2 separate regions of the Homo sapiens genome follow, and region 1 is linked to region 2. Evidence: promoter capture Hi-C in 16 types of primary human blood cells and fetal thymus (Javierre and others, 2016). All regions are on one chromosome and are shown on one strand. Each heading gives the region's core, a stretch centred on a gene start or on the middle of the fragment in contact. The rest is flanking DNA. Distances are from core to core; before and after follow the strand shown. Region 1 has its middle 15 kb from the start of SPATA3-AS1. Region 2 holds the start of ITM2C (integral membrane protein 2C).

The links. The method cuts DNA at HindIII sites, captures the fragments that hold promoters and counts their contacts. A CHiCAGO score of 5 or more calls a contact.
Region 1: a contact is called between a fragment that was not itself captured here and the fragment with the promoter of ITM2C in region 2, in 4 of 17 cell types (naive CD8 T cells, naive CD4 T cells, activated CD4 T cells and 1 more). The highest score is 8.4, in naive CD8 T cells.

Annotation. Positions count from the first base shown.
Region 1 is chr2:230,978,351-230,983,060 of GRCh38, reverse strand. No RefSeq gene overlaps it. Among named protein-coding and RNA genes, the nearest start is that of SPATA3-AS1, 15 kb to the left of the region's middle. RefSeq lists an enhancer at 1,172-1,311. The HindIII fragment of the contact is 9,305 bases long and covers 1-4,710 here.
Region 2 is chr2:230,862,167-230,867,016 of GRCh38, reverse strand. It overlaps ITM2C (integral membrane protein 2C), which reads right to left and starts at 2,075. Exons shown (of 6, transcript NM_030926.6): 1 at 1,872-2,075. The coding sequence starts at 1,991. RefSeq lists silencers at 876-975, 1,766-1,855, 1,956-2,325 and enhancers at 759-1,415, 1,416-2,074, 2,733-3,391, 4,517-4,850. The HindIII fragment of the contact is 7,451 bases long and covers 402-4,850 here.

The DNA.
Region 1 (4,710 bases), core at 1,868-4,367, 120 kb before region 2:
CACGCCCAGCTAATTTTTGTATTTTTAGTAGAGATGGGGTTTCACCATGTTGGCCAGGATGGTCTCGATCTCTTGACCTCATGATCCTCCCACCTTAGCCTCCCAAAGAGCTGGGATTACAGATGTGAGCCACCGTGCCTGGCCTATTGTTGCTATTATTAAAAAAAAAATTTGGAGATGAGGTCTCAGTCTGTTGCCCAGGCTGGAGTGTAGTGACATGATTATGGCTCACTGCAGCCTCAAACTCCTGGACTCAAGCTATCCTGCCACCTCAGCCTGCCGAGTAGCTGAGACTACAGGTTCGTGCCACCACACCTGGCTAATTTTTGTTTTTTTGGTTTTTGTAGAGCTGTGATCTCATTATGTGTTGTCCAGGCTGGTCTCAAACTCCTGGCCTCAAGTGATCCTCCCACCACAGTGCTGGGATGGCAGGTGTGAGCCACTGTGTCTGGCCTGTTGTTATTTTTAAATTGCTTTTCTTTTTTCAAATATTTTTGATCCATGGTTGATTGAAATCTTGGATGTGGAACCAGGGGGTAACTGAGGGCGAATTGCACTGGGCTTTCCCTTGACTAAATTTGGGCAAAATAAAATGATCTCTAACCTTTGTAAAGCTAATCAGACACCTCTAGGGTAGCAAATCCTAAAAGAAAAAGATCAGGCATATGAGTGCGTGTGTGTGTGCACGTGTATCTGTGTTGCCAAGCTGTTCCCTCCCCCACCCCCACCACTTTGCTTTTGGAGGCAAAGGAAAGGCACCCTCCTGGCTAGCAGGCCAGATGAGCCTTGTCACCTGGGGGATAGGATGCGACCCAGATCTGCTCCTGAGCACAAAGATGAGCAAAATCAAAGGAAATTGCATGAGACTGAAGACCTTCTGTGTGGTCCTCCTGGGAGTGGCAGAAGTTTCTGGTGGAGGCGCAAAACAGGCCCCTGCTACACATAACTTCCATAACCACCAATCCACAGGCAATCCACCCACCCACACCACATCCCAGGCCTCTCCTTTCCGTGCCTGACCTGTGCTCCCGTGGCCTGCATGGGTGTGAGTCGCCTCTTTCTCCACTGCAGGCCTCTTCCAGGATGTCCTGGTGAAGAACACCACTGCCTGTCCAATTATACTAGTCAGAACCCTGGGAGTGTCTCTTGACACTCCTTCTCATCGTCCGCCAAACCCAGCCCATCCCCAAAGCCTGTTGATTGTATTTCCTGCTTGTCACACAAATGCCACCAGCTTTGATGGGCACCTTGTTCCTCCCCTTTGTGGTACTTGTCACAGTTGCAATTTGCCTGTGAGCTCCGCAGAAGACAGATGCCACGGCTGCTTATTCCTTGTCGTGTCCCTGGTTCCTAAAACAGTGCCTCGTGCATCACTGGTGTTCAATAAATACTTGCCAAATCATTGAATAAATAAGCAAATGAATGAAGGAATGCAGTTTTGAGTGAGGATGGTGTTGAAAAGGAATAAAGCCTTCCCCAGTAGTGCCTGAGGTCCATGTAAGAATGTCCTAGATGATAAGACAGGAGACACACGGGCGTGGTAGATGGGCTCTCCCCACCCCTCCCCATAAGAGTGCAAAGCTGGGACAAGCCAGAGGCTTCACAGGCCTGGTAACTGGGGGGTAGGGTTTGGTGATTCCTACCCAGGGCTGGGGGCATCGGGAGGCTCTTCCTCTCTACCTGGACTGTGTTTACCAGGTGTGTTTCCCATTCATTATTTTCCAGTGGGTACTGGGTTCAAAGTTTCTATAAGCAGTGGGGGCTTTGAGGTTCGAGGAAAGTGTAGTATAGCTTTCTCTTCCTTTTAGGAAGATTTCTGTTTTTCTTTTTCTTTTTTTTTTTTTTTTTTTGAGACAGAGTCTTGCTCTGTCACCCCAGCTGGAGTGCAGTGGCATGATCGAGGCTCACTCCAACCTCCGCCTCCCAGGTTCAAGTGATTCTTGTGCCTCAGACTCCTGAGTAGCTGGGATTACAGACATGAGCCTCTGCACCCGTCCTAGGAAGATTTCAAAACGAAGATGAGTCTATTGTAATTTAGAGGGCCATTTTAAACTCCCTGTGTTGGTGGCAGATGGTTTGGGTCTGGCAGCTAGCTCTATCCCAACCTTCTCTATCCACCCTGCAACTCCCTCCCCTCCCCCTCACATTTTATTTTGAAATTTTCAAACATTCTGAAAAGTTCAAAGAAGAGTACAATGAACTTACCCTGGATTCTCCAACTGTTAACATTTTGCCACAATTGCTTTGTCTCTGTTGGTCTCTCTCTGTCTTTGTATATTTCCACATACTTTTATTTTGCTGAGCAATTTGAAAGCAAGTTGCTGACATCTTGACACTTCACTTCTAGATATCTCAGCATCTCCTAATAAGGATATTCTCCCACAAAACCACAATACCATGATCACAACCATAATAGCACCCAGTGTACTATCTGTATTCAAATCTCTACAGTTGTCCCCGGAAGAGCTTTTAATGCTGGATTTTTTTTTCCTATCCAGGATCCAATCAAGATCATGTATGATATTTGGTTGTTATGGCTCTTCAGTCTCTTTTCATCTGAAACAGTCTTTCACCTTTTTATTGTTGTTGTTGTTCTTTGTTTATGTGAAATTAGTTTTTGATAAAGAGTCCAGGACAGTTGTCTTGTAGAGTGTCCCATATGTGGGTTAATCTGATTGCTTACACAAGATTAGATGCAGGTTGAATATCTTTGGCCAGAGTTCTGTACTGCATAGGTGCCACTGTAGACTTCTCAGTCAAGTATCACATCTGGAGTAAATAATGTCAATATCACATCTGGAGTAAATAATGTCAGGCATCACAACTGGAGTAAATAATGTCAGTATCACATCTGGAGTAAATAATGTCAGTATCACATCTGGAGTAAATAATGTCAGTATCATATCTGGAGTAAATAATGTCAGTTATCACATCTGGAGTAAATAATGTCAGGCATCACATCTGGAGTAAATAATGTCAGGCATCACATCTGGAGTAAATAATGTCAGGCATCACATCTGGAGTAAATAATGTCAATATCACATCTGGAGTAAATAATGTCAGTTATCACATCTGGAGTAAATAATGTCAGTTATCACATCTGGAGTAAATAATGTCAGTTATCACATCTGGAGTAAATAATGTCAGGTATCACATCTGGAGTAAATAATGTCAGTATCACATCTGGAGTAAATAATGTCAGTATCACATCTGGAGTAAATAATGTCAGTATCACATCTGGAGTAAATAATGTCAGGCATCACATCTGGAGTAAATAATGTCAGGTATCACATCTGGAGTAAATAATGTCAGTATCACATCTGGAGTAAATAATGTCAATATCACATCTGGAGTAAATAATGTCAGGTATCACATCTGCAGTAAATAATGTCAGTATCACACCTGGAGTAAATAATGTCAGGCATTACATCTGGAATAAATAATGTCAGTATCACATCTGCAGTAAATAATGTCAGTTATCACATCTGGAGTAAATAATGTCAGGCATCACATCTGGAGTAAATAATGTCAGTATCACATCTGGAGTAAATAATGTCAGGTATCACATCTGCAGTAAAAAACATCAGTATCACATCTGGAGTAAATAACATCAGGTATCACATCGGGAGTAAATAATGTCAGTATCGCAACTGGAGTAAATAATGTCAGGCATCACATCTGGAGTTAATAATGTCAGGCATCACATCTGGAGTAAATAATGTCAGTATCACTTCTGCAGTAAGTAATGTCAGGTATCACATCTGGAGTAAATAATGTCAGGTATCACATCTGGAGTACATAATGTCAGTATCACATCTGGAGTAAATAATGTCAGGTATCACATCTGGAGTAAATAATGTCAGGCATCACATCTGGAGTACATAATGTCAGCCACTCTTGGTCATTCTGAGTTTGATCACTAATCCTCACTCTGCTTCCCCTTTTGTAAGTAATTTTTAGAATCTTCACATGGTCACAGGATTAACTGAATATCCAAGTCACCAAACAGTTTTGGCAACTCTTGGTGATGCTTACCTGAAGGAAGCATTACATTGGAGGTTGGAAAATGGTAGTTTTTCATTCTTTTATTCCTGCTACATTTACTAGCTGGCCTTTTTTTCTGTAAGAATTTCCAAATCCCACTATATTAAAAACATTAATCACTGTGGGTTCGTGGAGTTTTAAAAATGCTATAATTGAAACTACAGTTATTCATTTTGATGTTCAAATCATCCCACATTTGAGCAGTGGGAGCCCTCAGGTCAGCTCCTGAATCCTTTTGACATGATCACATTTATCTTCCAAAACTGTTTTGCTTTCTGGTGTGACAAGAGATTCCATGCTCACGTTGTACATTTTCACCCCTGACCTAGAATCTACCATTTCTCTAACGAGCCCTGGTGCCTTTAGTGGTGAATGGTATAGAGAAAGAAAGAACCTGGTGATATATGCGATCATTGCTACTCGGCTGTCATTCAGTGGACAGGATTAGAAAACTCATTTTAAAAAAAATTACAAGTTCAAACTGATATATTTCCTACTCAAATTTAACATTACAGTTTTTCTTTCACTTCTTTACTGACTACTAGTATCTTTTTTCCCCGTCAGTAAAATATATATTTGCTTATTTGCTTTCCACTATACATGCACAAAAGAGTTTCAGAATTACAAGACCAATATTACTGCTAACAGTAAACATACTAAATAGAA
Region 2 (4,850 bases), core at 826-3,325:
AAGGACGCTCAATTTCAGAGCCTGATGAGAAGCCAGAAGCTAGGATGTCAGTTATGCCCCGAGATGCAGGTCTCTGTCAGACTGCCCAAACCCATGCCATCAGCAGGCTGCGGCTGGAGAATGTGCCGCTCCTGCAAAATCTGGGGGACCTTCTGATGGAGTTGGAATAACACCCTCCCACTGTCTGACCTGGTCCTCCCTCCTCAAATATCTCCAGGAAGAGGTGGCTAGGAAAAGAGATGGGCAAGCGTGCTGCCTCCTGCCCCCATCCCTGCCCCTCCCCAGGCTGAGTGGAGGGCAGCTTCCCTTCCAAAGAAAAGGAGTCTTGAAGAACCCCTTGCAAACTTTTAAAGCTGCAGAACCATCTTCTTCAAATATGGAGCGCCCCCTCCACCTAAGCTTCAGATGAAAAGGGGGGAGCTGCTCTCATGGGGTGCACAGCAACCCCCAACCTCGCCTAGGTGGTTGTTGAACTCTTGTGGCTCTGAGCCACTGGTTGCTGCAGTGACCACCATAAAAGGGCAGGGGGTTCTCAGTCTCCTGGCATTCCTCACTCAGGGTCTCTGCCCAGGCTGACACCCAACTCTGACGGCCCTCTCCGGCGCCCCCTCCTCCAGGGTCCAGGTCATCCTCTGCAGGCCCCTTAATGCCCCAGGCAAGACTGAACCTGAGCCACAAAACCTGGGGAGGGGGCTAGGCGTTCAGGAAGACTCTTCAGAAGCCTGCATCTGGAAGTGGGGAAGCAGTGGACAAAGACTTTCTCAGTCCTGCCTCAATGCGGGGTGGGGAGGCGGGGAGGACATGGGCTTGGTAAGCCACAAGACCGCTGGGGGCGGCGCCCACGTAGACACCTTTGCCAGGCACAATAAAACCTGGCTGGGCCAGCTCTCCCTCCCTCCCTGTCCCTGCCCGCCACGCGTTCTGCCCCCTGCGGGCCCTTCCCGGACACAAGGCACGCAGCTCAGACAGTTTTCCACGGCGGAAATGCCTTCTCTCCCCCCCGGCCAGAGGGAAAGTGGAGGAAGCCGGGGTAGGGGAGGGGGATGACAGGGGTGGGGGAACGCGCACAGAGCCCGGGGACCCAGGATGCAAGGGCACTGGGGCAGTTGGGAGCCCTCCCCGTGGGGTCGGGGGACAGCCCAGCGAGAGGCTGGGAATGGAGAAAAGAGAGGGGAGCAGGGAGGCCCAGACGGCAGGGCGTGGGGTGGGAAGGGGGCACCCGGCCTCGGACCCCCGACGTCCAGAGGCCGCAGCGCCGTCGGTTCTGGCTGATTTCCATTTCATCACTTTCTGGTCTGTCAATTCCGGTGCAGGCCAGCAGCACATCCTCTGTCCCTCGCAGCCCCCAATTTCGGAGGAAATCAACGGCCCCACCCTCTTCGTTGGTACCAGACCCCCCCACCCCCAATTCCCCAGCCAATCAGGTCCCACCGCCCTACTTTGGAAAAACTACGTCTAACCCTCCTCCCATCCCCCACCTGGGGACTCGACTCGCGGCTTTCCCAGTTGATTGGAACCAGACGCGTACCCCCCCACCAACATTCCTCGAACTTCTTCGGACCAGCCCCCTCCCCCTATAAGGCGGCGAGGGGGCCCCCACTTTTGGAAGAGACCTCGAGCACTTCTCCACCTGAAGACCAGAACCAGACGCCTCCCACTCTTCGGACTTCAGCTTTTGGCTGCCGCTTTAGTACGGGACTTAAGCCCCCTCCTCATTCTGGGATAAGCAACCATTCGAGACTTCCCAACCCTGCTCCACCCCGGGCTCTGGGGCCCTGACGCGCCTCGGGCAGTCCCCAGGGCCGACGGGGCGCGCCTGGGTCGTGAGCCTGGGTCCCCCGCCCCACCGCCTGAGCCCCAGACCCTCTCACCCTAGCCGGCGTCAGCAGGATCTCGGTGGCCGAGGCCGGCGCAGGGGCCGACGCCGACGCCTTGTCAGCCTTGTCGCCCTTGATGCCAGCCACGGCGGGCTGGAAGCTAATCTTCACCATGGCTGCGCCGGCCCGCGCGTCCGCCCCGCAGCCTCTGCCGGTGCAGCCTCGGTCTCTGCCTCCGCCGCTCCGAGCTCTGCAGGCACCGGAAGTTTGGATCCCGCTCGCGTCCCTCTCTCTAACCCCACCCCCAGCCCTCCCCGCCCCGTCCCCGCGGGAGGGCCCCGGCGCCCGCCGCGCCTGCGCCCCCTTCCCGCCCGCGGGGCCCGCAGTGACCCCTGCCGGGCGCGCCGCTCCGCACCTGGGGCGGGTCGGAGTTCCTTCTGCCGCTCGCTCGCACAGTCACTCACTCGCTCGCTCACTCACTCACTCACTCACTCGCTCACTCATTCATTCAGCCGTCACGCTCGGATCCGTTCTCCGTAGCATAATCCCTTCGCATTCCCTGTCCAAGGCCAGCATCCCCGCAACGCAAGTCTTTGTTAACCCAGTGTTTGCCAGGCAAATGCAGCTTCCAGACAACTCACCCGTCTCTCCTGCCCCACTTCAGGTCTTCCCCTTTAGAAACGCTGGAGCCTCCGCTCTACCTGTCCCCACGCCCCCCTCCTCCGACCTGTCCTTGGCGCGGGGAGGAGGCTTTGAGACAGGCGCCAAACTGCTGCCTCCGTCTTGCCTTCTGAAGCCATCCACGCCTCCTTCATCCTCCATCTTGCTTCTGCCTTCATTCTTTATTCCTGCAAAACCTTCCTGGGGGGTCCTGGGGTGCACGCTGGAGCCGCCTGGAGTGGAGAAGGGAAGGCCGCCCCTGCTCCCTGGCTCCTTCGTGTTGCTGCGACCTCAGTTATTGGGTGACCTCCTGAACTGCCCTTGTCTCACTCATCCAGGAGGACCCTGGCGAGAGTGGAGGGAAGACCCCCAGGGCGGGTGTCAGAGGCTCGGGTTCCACTCAAGACTCTGCTCCTCCCAAGTATCACGGGTACTGGGGAAGCAGGGGCTTCTGTTGCTGGGATGGCTGCTCTTGGCACTAACGCCCTGAATCTTTCCTCTTTGCTCCTGGTCCAGACTGGGCCAGGGACAGCGCCCAGCAACACACACAGGTTGTGCTGAGTGGTCCGCTTTGGTTCTGCTGTTGGGCTGCCAGTGGAGGGCAGGGGAGTCCGTCCGCTTCTTGAGGACAGTCCGGGGTCCTCCACTGATCTCTCTTCTCACCTTTCAGGTCTTTTGCAGCTGCCTTGGGCCCTTAGCGCCCACGTCCCAGACCCGGACCTCTTGGCTCAGATCTTGGATGAACCTAGCAACCTTGAGGACAGACAGGTGGGGAAAGAAGAAAGTCTAACTGATGCTAAGGCCACCAGCCTGGGGAACTGGGGGGAGGGAATGGGGAGGTGGAAGAAGACAGATGGTTTGGAGGAGACGAGGAGGAATCTGGTTTGGCACAGAGCCAGAGAGGAAGGTGTTATGGACTACCGCTCATCACCTGCTCCAGATCCCATGGGAAACCTGGTGTCTGGAGAAGGCAAGCTCCACGTCTTGCTTAGGCCACACCCCCAACATGCATTCCTTCACTCAGTGTTTTCCAAGCACCCCTGTGTGCCAAGCATTGTGTTAAGCTCTGTGGCAGAAAACAGAGATGCCCAAGACACAACCCAGCCACCAAGGATGTGGTCATGTGAAACCTTCTATGAGTGGCATTCTTTCACGTGCATTCAATTATTTAATTTTCATCACAGCCTCTGTGACCTACACATTAGCCTCATGTTAATAGTGATAGAAGGTAGCATGACTAAACCCAGGGTCGCAGAGCTGGTTTGGCACAAATCTCTGGTCAGCAAGACAGGGCCACCTGGGTGAAGCATCCACATGCCTGAGATTGGCAGGCGAGCACCCCACTTCCCCTGGAAGGCCTTCCCAGACCGGCTGGGATAAGTCCCTTTCCTGTGCACCTTCAGCACTGTGCACATCCCCCTCGGGCCTCTCCTTACGCTTGACCATGGACTCAATGCCGGCCAAGTGCTGGGCGTACAACCTAGTGCAGTGATTCCTAAATTTTTTGGTTTCAGGACCCCAAGAGCTTTTGTTTAGGTGGCTTATGTCTATCAACATTTACCATATTAGAAACTAAAACTCAGAAAGTTTTAAGACACAAGAATACATATATTCCATTGGGCATCAAAGCGATGTCATCACACATGTAGTCTCTGGAAAACCCCACTGCACGCTAATGAGAGAATGAGAGTGAAAAGGGCAAATAATGACTTATATTGTTGCAAAAAATAGTTTTGACCTTGGAGACCCCCCTGAATGGGTCTTGGGGGGCACCATGCTCTGCAGATCACCTGTTCAGATGCTCAAGAATCCATATTCCATGGATTCTAAGAAACACATTTCTTCACATTTTAACATCTTGAGAATCAAGATATCTTTTACAATTATAATTGGCAGTGATTAAGTAATGTCTTTCACAAGTGATAGCATCTTATATTTGATGGAGTACAGTATAGCCAGTCAATAATCCAAGGGGAGCCAGGAGGCTGCGGGAGGTCCATGTCGCATACTGAGTTTTGTGGACTCAGGGAAGGACAGCAGGGTGAATGCGGTCGTGGTGCAGCCCAGGCTCCATGCAAGACAGGAGATTTGGGTGGGAACTGGAAAGACACAGGGTGTGGACAAGTGACAGGGAAATGAGAGTCCGCACTGGGAGTGAGGAGAGTGACTCTGGGCCAGGAGCCCTCAGCTCAGTCCAACAGCCATTCCTGCCAGCACCTGAATCCTCTTTGTTCTGTTCTTGCATCTTACCCAAGTGGCAGAGCTTCTCCTGTCCCCCTTTCTGGTTCCAGGTTCTGCTCAGGGACTGCTAAGTTCTGTTGGTGAAAGTGATACCATCATGCCCCTTGGGACCAGCATGCTACCTCCTCTTGG